Linked DNA regions of Homo sapiens: regions 1 and 3 are each linked to region 2. The links are contacts of gene promoters, found by promoter capture Hi-C in blood cells and fetal thymus (Javierre and others, 2016). All regions are on one chromosome and are shown on one strand. The core of a region is centred on a gene start or on the middle of the fragment in contact, and the rest is flanking DNA. Distances in the headings are between cores, read along the strand shown. Region 1 overlaps CYP17A1 (cytochrome P450 family 17 subfamily A member 1). Region 2 holds the start of CALHM2 (calcium homeostasis modulator family member 2). Region 3 overlaps AS3MT (arsenite methyltransferase).

The links. The method cuts DNA at HindIII sites, captures the fragments that hold promoters and counts their contacts. A CHiCAGO score of 5 or more calls a contact.
Region 1: a contact is called between a fragment that was not itself captured here and the fragment with the promoter of CALHM2 in region 2, in 1 of 17 cell types (endothelial precursors). The highest score is 5.5, in endothelial precursors.
Region 3: a fragment that was not itself captured here is called in contact with the fragment with the promoter of CALHM2 in region 2 in 1 of 17 cell types (neutrophils); the score reaches 5.9 in neutrophils.

The regions. Positions count from the first base shown.
Region 1 is chr10:102,829,580-102,832,279 of GRCh38, reverse strand. It overlaps CYP17A1 (cytochrome P450 family 17 subfamily A member 1), which reads left to right. Exons shown (of 8, transcript NM_000102.4): 7 at 669-772; 8 at 1,295-1,749. The coding sequence ends at 1,578. Among named protein-coding and RNA genes, the nearest start is that of CYP17A1-AS1, 1.7 kb to the left of the region's middle. The HindIII fragment of the contact is 1,013 bases long and covers 861-1,873 here.
Region 2 is chr10:103,451,120-103,453,819 of GRCh38, reverse strand. It overlaps CALHM2 (calcium homeostasis modulator family member 2), which reads left to right and starts at 1,450. Exons shown (of 4, transcript NM_015916.5): 1 at 1,450-1,664; 2 at 2,535-2,700. CALHM1 (calcium homeostasis modulator 1) reads left to right here. Exons shown (of 2, transcript NM_001001412.4): 2 at 1-580. LOC124902494 (a long non-coding RNA gene) reads right to left here and starts at 1,377. Exons shown (of 2, transcript XR_007062275.1): 1 at 584-1,377. RefSeq lists a silencer at 1,049-1,378 and enhancers at 1,217-1,838, 1,839-2,459, 2,408-2,700. The HindIII fragment of the contact is 3,298 bases long and covers 145-2,700 here.
Region 3 is chr10:102,873,427-102,876,323 of GRCh38, reverse strand. AS3MT (arsenite methyltransferase) reads right to left here. Exons shown (of 11, transcript NM_020682.4): 6 at 1,663-1,732. It overlaps BORCS7-ASMT (BORCS7-ASMT readthrough (NMD candidate)), which reads right to left. Exons shown (of 15, transcript NR_037644.1): 10 at 1,663-1,732. Among named protein-coding and RNA genes, the nearest start is that of AS3MT, 5.4 kb to the right of the region's middle. The HindIII fragment of the contact is 685 bases long and covers 1,201-1,885 here.

The DNA.
Region 1 (2,700 bases), core at 118-2,617, 620 kb after region 2:
CAATATGGTGAAACCCCGTCTCTACTAAAAATACAAAAATTAGCCATGCATCGTGGCGCGTGCCTGTAGTCCCAGCTACTCAGGAGGCTGAGGCAGGAGAATCACTTGAACCAAGGCGGCGGAGGTTGCAGTGAGCCAAGATTGCACCACTGCACTCCAGCCTGGGTGACAGAGCGGGACTCTGTCTCAAAATAAATAATTAATTAATTAAATATAAAAATCATCCTGCCCCCAGCCCCGTGGCTCCATGTCTCTACCACCTACAGACACGCATTGACTCATCCACAGATCTGCCTGACTTCCCAGAGGAGCTTCCTGCTGCCCTCAGAGACATGTGGTCTGGGATGAAAGGCTGGGAGCTCCATGTTCCAACCAGCTGCAGCACGCACATAACATGCGCTGCAGCTCCAAACGCACACCCACATACACTGCCAGACACCAAAGTCCACAGACACAGGTGTTCAGACAGAAGCGCCTGTTAGGAGGGAAGGGATGGAGAAGGGCTGGATTTAGGTTTGATCTGGCAGAAGCTGAGGAAAACATGAGTGAGTGGGAATGAGGGAGTAAAGGGCATTTTCCTCACGGCGGAAGAATGAGGGGGCATGAGGCTGAGCAAGGAAGGGAGTACGAAGTCCCAGACCCACTTTTCCTCTTCCACTCTGGAGCAGCATCGGTGAGTTTGCTGTGGACAAGGGCACAGAAGTTATCATCAATCTGTGGGCGCTGCATCACAATGAGAAGGAGTGGCACCAGCCGGATCAGTTCATGCCTGGTGAGTCTGTCCTGTCCTGCGCCCTGGGCCACACAGCGAGCCTGGACTCTGCTCCACCACCCCAGTACCCCTTCACCTCTGCCAAGCTTGCTGCTAGAAAACTCTTGGCTCCAACTATACGGACCTGTTGACACCCTCATCCTGCCATAGACTTACCCAAACTCTTCACAGCTGGGTTTCCCACGCTCTTCTTCCAACCAACTGCAAATTCACCCTCCAAGAAGCCCTCTACGCCTCTGTCTGCCATTAAGTCTGTCCCTTCTCCCCTCGGATGGTGCTATTTTCATAGGTTAATTCCATCTCTTTTCCATCCTTCCTGAATATTTCATTTCCTCTGTGTCGTTAAGGGCTACCTGAAAGCAGGGCTGTATCTCTCCCCAGGCGGGGGTTCCCCCATAATAAGGCTACATCCTCAGATCAGGGTTCCCTGGGCAGGGCCATGTCTCCCCCTCAACCAGGGCAGAACCATGCCTCTCCTCCCTCCTGCCCTAACCCCTGGCTGATGCCACTCCTTGCCTGCAGAGCGTTTCTTGAATCCAGCGGGGACCCAGCTCATCTCACCGTCAGTAAGCTATTTGCCCTTCGGAGCAGGACCTCGCTCCTGTATAGGTGAGATCCTGGCCCGCCAGGAGCTCTTCCTCATCATGGCCTGGCTGCTGCAGAGGTTCGACCTGGAGGTGCCAGATGATGGGCAGCTGCCCTCCCTGGAAGGCATCCCCAAGGTGGTCTTTCTGATCGACTCTTTCAAAGTGAAGATCAAGGTGCGCCAGGCCTGGAGGGAAGCCCAGGCTGAGGGTAGCACCTAAAGGCTGTAACTCACAGCCCCTGTCCACCCTATGTGGCCCCACAACACAGATTTAGAGATACAACCCCCCACCCTTCTCCGCCATTCTTCCCTACTCCCAACCCACTCTGCCTTCTTTTTCAGCTTGTGGCAATGCCAGTGATGTGCATAAACAGTTTTTTTTTTTCCATAAGGTCCCTGAGTAGTTCATTTATGTATTCATTTGCTCACTCATTCTTTCAACACCGATTTTATTGAGCACCTACTATGTGCCATTCACTTTCTCAGGACACTCGAGCTCCGTGGTCTCTGAAGCTTACATTCTAGTGAGGGCTAACAAGTGAATAAGTTCAGAGACTCGTAAGTGCTTTGAAGTCAATCACAATTTGTGTGATGTGATGAGAAAATGGCAGAGGCAGTGGGTGGCTGCTTTGAACAAGGGGTCAGGAAAAGTGTTGCATGCTGAGAAGCAGGTAAAAAGGCCTCCAGGTGGGAGAGGTCAGCATGGCCAGTGAAGGGGAGAGTGGGCCCTGATGAGGTCAGAGTGGACATAGTGGTCCGTTCCCACTGTAGCTGGGATTACAGGAGGCCAGGAGGGAGGTTGGGTTTTATTCTAATTATGACAGGAAGTCACTGGAGGATTTTAAGTATGTAAGTGGAACAATCTGTTTTTTTGTTTTTGTTTTTGTTTGAGAAGGAGTTTCGCTCTTGTTGCCCTGGCTGGAGTGCAATGGCATGATCTTGGCTCACTGCAACCCCTGCCTCCTGAGTTCAAGTGATTCTCCTGCCTCAGCCTCCAAAATAGCTGGGATTGCAGGCGTGTGCCACCATGCCCAGCTAATTTTGTATTTTTAGTAGAGATGAGGTTTTGCCATGTTGGTCAGGCTGGTCTCGAACTCCTGACCTCAGGTGATCCACCCATCTCGGCCTCCCAAAGTGCTGGGATTATAGACATGAGCCACAGCGCCTAGCCTGTTTTTTGTTTTGTTTTGTTTGGGTTTTTTTGTTGTTGTTTTTTGTTCTGTTTTTTGAGTGACATGGTCTCACTCTGTTGCCAGGCTGATTGCAGTGGCACAATCATGGCTCACTGCAGCCTCAACCTCCCAGGCTCAAGTGATCCTCCCACCTCAGCATCCCAAGTAAC
Region 2 (2,700 bases), core at 201-2,700:
AGGTAGGAGTTGGTATGGGCCCTGAAGTCAGGGAGGATTAGGATGAGCAAAAAACAAGGTGTATGTTGGTGGGTGGCAGCACTTCCAGTGGGAAGAGAAGGCCCGGAGGTATCAGGAGGTACAAATGTGATGAAGAGCAAAGCTTTGGGTCAGGCACACCTGAGTTCAAATACCAGCACTGCAGGACTTGTGGCCAGTCACCCAGCCACTCTAAGCCTCAGTGTGTCTGTCTATAAAATGGATATTAGAAGACCTGCTTGGCCAGGCGGAGTGGCTCATGCCTGTAATCCCAGCACTTGGGAGGCCAAGGAGGGAGGATCACTTGAGCCTGGGAGTTGGAGACCAGCCTGGGCAACATAGCAAGACTCTGTCTCTGTAAAGTAATAATAATAATAAGAAGAAGAAGAAGAATAAAGAGAAGATTTATAATTTTTTTAAAATGAAAAAATTATTTTTTAAAAAAGACCTGATTTTCAGGATTGTGGTAAGGATAGAGGAAGATAACTTTTAGGGAAGGATCTGGGACTGTGTTTAGCACATGCTGGGATCTGAAACAAACAAATAAACAAGCAGAACTTGGTACCTTTTCTTTCCTTCGTACATATGGTCAAGCCCAGCTCAGGGAGGCCAGCGGGTCACTCGGCAGCTCCACCATGACGGAACCACGAGCACTGCAGAGCTGACAGATGTCGGGGGTCCTCTCCCTCCATGCTAAGGGTCATCTAGCCTGTCCGTAGACTCTCCTGTGCAGCATTCCTGACCCGTGACGCTTCAGCCCGCATCTTGACCACTTTTAGATACAGGCTGGGCAGCTCTGATTATTACACAGGGCTTCCTTCAGAAACCTGCCTCCTTGTAACTTTCACCCACCAGTTGGAGCTCTGCCTGCAGGACCCGGAGAATCCCTAGGCTCCTGAATTCAATCCTCAGCCCTCCAGGGATCCGAAGCAGGTCCCGGGGAGTTAGCTGACTATAGGTCAAAGAGTCAGCATTGGGGATGGTTTGTCCAGTCAATGGACAACTCTGAGGGAGAAGGGCCAGTAGAGGGTGGGGCCCTGGCCCTGAGCATCCTGCAGGGCTCAGCGCGGGCCTGACGACACCCTCCCTTGACCCTCGCGGGGTCTCCTTTGGTAGCTTCTGCCCAGCGGGGGTCAAGTACGTGGGGTGCTCTTGAAACTGTCATGGGGGGCAGGTCTGGGTCAGATCTCCCCAATGCCTCCACATCCCCACGTGGCCCTCCCGACTGGTCCCATTGGTGTGGAGCATGGCCCGGTCCGGGTCTGGGCCGAGGGCGGAGGGCCAGCACGGCCCAGGGACGGCGAGCAGCGGGTCGGTGGGACGCGCAGCAGCTGCAGAACAGGCATCTCAACTTCCTCTCGGCTCCTCTCCTCTCGCGCCGCCCTCGGGGCCCGCCCTCCTCTGCCTGGTGGCGCCGGGAGGCTGTTTTTCCACTCACTGGCGCGCAGACTCCATCCCACTGTTTTCTTCTCTCTTTTCTGGAGTTAGATTAGTCTGAAGCCGCCACCAGCCCCAGGCCCCCGTGCAGAAGAAAAGCGGGAGGGAACGGCGGAGGCCGCCGCTGCCCTGCACCGCCCTCCTGGAGGCCACTTGGAGAGTCCGGCCCCGAGGAGGCCATGGCCACAAGTGCCCACAGCTGGCCCCAGGTAAGGAAGGGGCCCTCCCTGGGGTGTGCCAGGTGTCAGCGGAGCATGGTGGGGCCTGTCCCACGCTGCCCAGAGGGAGAGAGGCCCCTAGCTGAGGTTCCCTCCACCCGGTTGAACAGGGAGCAGTCCTGCCCCTCCCCGAGCCGCCAGTCTCCTGTCGTCACTGATGTTGGAGGAGGTCCCACTGGGGGTCTGGATGTGACCCATCCTTGGCCTGGGGGCAGTGGTCTCAGAAGATGGCCTGGCCCATCCTCTGCTCACCACCCACCCTGTGCAGGTATCTTGTACCCCACTTTGAGCCAGTTTATGAACCCAGGGCCTCCACAGGGAGCTAATTAGGAGCCTAGAAGCCAAGAAGGGAAAAGGATGGGGCAAAGGGGGCTGACTTTAACCCATTCTTCCCCAGCAGTGATGCAAACTGCCTTTCCCAGGAAGTTAGGCTGGAAGCTCCAGGCTGTGAAGTGGGGGAAGAATCAGACTCCTCCTCCTCCTCCTCCTCCTCCTCCTCCTCCTGTTGTTCCTCCTGGTCCTCCTCCTCCAGCTTCTCCTTTTCTTGGAGTCTGCATGGCCACATGGCTCTGCCTGAGCCCATCTGGCAGCCTTCCTTGGCAGGGACAGAAGGGGTGATCTAGAAGGGGTGATCCCTCCATGAAGCATGGAAGGGAACAGGGCTAGGTCTGTGTTTGGCGCTCACCCCATCCCTCCACTCCCTGGCTTCCTCTGGCCTGGGGAGTTTTGTTTTTCACCCTCCAGAGGGGGAGGACATGGGGCCACACCCTGGCCTGTCTCTCAGGCTTGTGTGGGTGGAGGCTGGGAAGGGAGTTGGGCTAAACTTCGCTGTTGCCCGAGGCCATGGCCACTTCCCGGCAGGTTGCCAGCGTCGCTACAGCCCAGACCAAGGCAGAATAATCTCCGGATGAGCTGGTGGCACCGCTGAGCCTTTGGTCTCACCAGGGCTTCCTGTTGCTGGCAGGCGGGGTGGAGCGGAGCTGCTGGGAGGCTGCTGGATAGGAGAGGGGTCACGGCTGCGGAAGAG
Region 3 (2,897 bases), core at 294-2,793, 580 kb after region 2:
GGGGTACAGATAGTGACACTGCATTCCAGCCTGGGTGACAGCAAGACCCCATTTCTATTAAAAAATATAACTTTTTGTAATGTTGTTATTTACTTTTATAACAACACATTTTATCTTTAAAATATTATCCTTAAAATGTAAGGCAAATGAGTGATCAGGAACTTAACATTTTATTTAGCTAATTTCAAAAACCTGGAAACCTGGAGATCTAGATTCTATAATAGTGTTTCTACCTTTTATAAGTACATTTTTGGTGGAGATAGTGAACTGGCGTGTAAAATGACATACTAACAAAGACATCACTAAATCATTAAATCATTTCTATATAGATATTTGTATTTGAGTTCTATGACAGCTTTGTAAACCAAAAATCTCAAAAATCTGTTGTCAATTTAAAAAAAAATTTTGGCCAGGCACAGCGGCTCATGCCTGTAATCCCAGCACTTTGGGAGGCTGAGGCAGATCATGAGATCAGGAGTTCAAGATCAGCCTGACCAATATGGTGAAATCTTGTCTCTACTAAAAGTACAAAAATTAGCTGGGCATGGTGGCACACGCCTGTAGTCCCAGCTACTAGGGAGGCTGAGGCAAAAGAATTGTTTGAACCCAGGAGGCGGAGGTTGCAGTGAGATGAAATCCTGCCACTGCACTACAGCCTGGACAGCAGAGTGAGACTCCATCTCAAAAAAAAAAACATTTTTTTAGAGGCAGTGATCACACTATATTGCCCAAGCTGCACACAAACTCCAGAGCTCAAGCAATCCTCTTGCCTCAGCATCCAAGTAGCTGGGAGTACAGGCATGTACCACCCACCCAGCTAGAATCTTTTTTTTTTTTTTTTTTTTTTGAGATGGAGTCTCGCTCTGTCTCCCAGGCTGGAGTGCAGTGGCACGATCCTGGCTCACTGCAACCTCTGACTTCTGGGTTCAAGCTATTCTCCTACCTCAGCCTCCCGAGGAGCTGGGATTACAGGCACGCACCACCACACCCAGCTAATTTTTGTATTTTTAGTAGAGACAGAGTTTCTCCATGTTGGCCAAGCTGGTCTCAAACTCCTGACCTCAGGTGATCTGCCCGCCTCGGCCTCCCACAGCACTGGGATTACAGGTGTGAGCTACCGCACCTGGCTGAATATTTCATCTACTATCATGAAGATACACATCTCATGATACAATGAAGGCTGTGGAGCTCCTGCAAGCTTTCCTTTTAGCAAGTAGTTAATGTAAAAGTTCCATCTTCTGTAACTTCCCAAAGATCTGAAATCATGACAGATAAGAAATCAGAAGCCCTGAGAAACACTGTACATGCTAGAAGAGAGTATATTCAAAGCAATCATTAGTAGTCAGTGCAAAGATTCCTATAGCTCCACAGATGCTCTTCTAGGATCATGTACAGCAGCAAATAGGAGAGACAGTCAAGAAAGCAAATACCTTAACACATTCAGTGACAACTGTCACCTCGGATTTACTACCTTTTGCAACCTAAGAGGGAAAGTAATCCATATCCGGGGTATTCCTGCCCCTTCCCCCTTTTGCCACCCCTTATTCATTTAATGGATAAATTAAGAGAGTTTGAGCTCTTAGTTCAAGGGGGAACAAACAAGACTTAACCCATCAGCTCTTACTGATGTTCAAAGATAATTTATCTCACTCTCCTCCTCACCTTCAGCACCCGATATGCCTCCTGAAGCACTTGTTGTTTATCAGGCACAAGGTTAATAACACAGTTTGATCTAAAAGAGAACAGATGAAATGTCGAGCAAATCTTCACAACACTCAGAGATCTGCAAATCCTTTCAGACCCTAAAGGTGGTTCCCACCGTTCTGTCAAAGCTACCCCATTCTTACCGCCTCCCTCCTCTCTTTCTAATGCCTTCAACTAAGCTTTTCCCCAAGATCAGAGACAGAGTGCTTAAAATCTCAATAAATTGTTAGCAAGTTTGAATGTGCAGAAAATAACATCAGGCATGATTCTTACTTGTTTCTGTCCTGATGTTCACCATGTAACAAGATGAAACCTCAGACCAGATGCCTACTGCACAAGGCATTTCTTTCTTTTTTTTTTTTTCCCGAGAGGATGTTTCACTCCTGTTGCCCAGGCTGGAGTACAATGGCGCAATCTCGGCTCATTGCAACCTCCGCCTCCCGGGTTCAAGTGATTCTCCTGCCTCAGCCTCCTAAATAGCTGGGATTACAGGCATGTGCCACCACACCCAGCTAATTTTTGTATTTTTAGTAGAGACGGGGTTTCGCCATGTTGTTCAAGCTGGTCTGGAATTCCTGACCTCGTGATCCACCTGCCTCGGCCTCCCAAAATGCTGGGATTATAGGCGTGAGCCACCGCACCTGGCCGGCACAAGGCATTTCTTATGCTTCACGTAAACAGGCTATGTTCCTCAAAGGCAGCTGTCACTTGGGCATGATTTGACAATAACAACTTGAGGGAAAAAAGGAAATAGAATCCTATAATTTACCATGAAAATATTATGAAAGATACAGGTCAGCATGTATTGTAGGAGCAAACTTAGTGGTCCTGCTGGTCTTTTGGGTTCATTGGTTTGTGGTTAAGTTTCAAGTAAGTTCCCTCTTGGTCTGGTGTGTTCTGCTGCTGGTGAGCTCCAGCAGCTCAAACCAGCTCTCTCCCATTAGTAAGCCATGCTAAGTTTAGTTTAACACCCTAAATGAGAGTCAATTCAGCAAACAGTAATAGTGACATCTCTGTGTTCAAAAGGAAATGAGGGCTGAGCACAGTGCCTCACACCTGTAATCCCAGCACTTTGGGAGGTGGAAGCGGGTGGATCACCTGAGATCAGGAGTTTGAGACCAGCCTGGCCAACATGGTGAAACCCTGTCTCTACTAAAAGAAGATTTAAAAAATTAGCTGGATGTGGTAGCGTG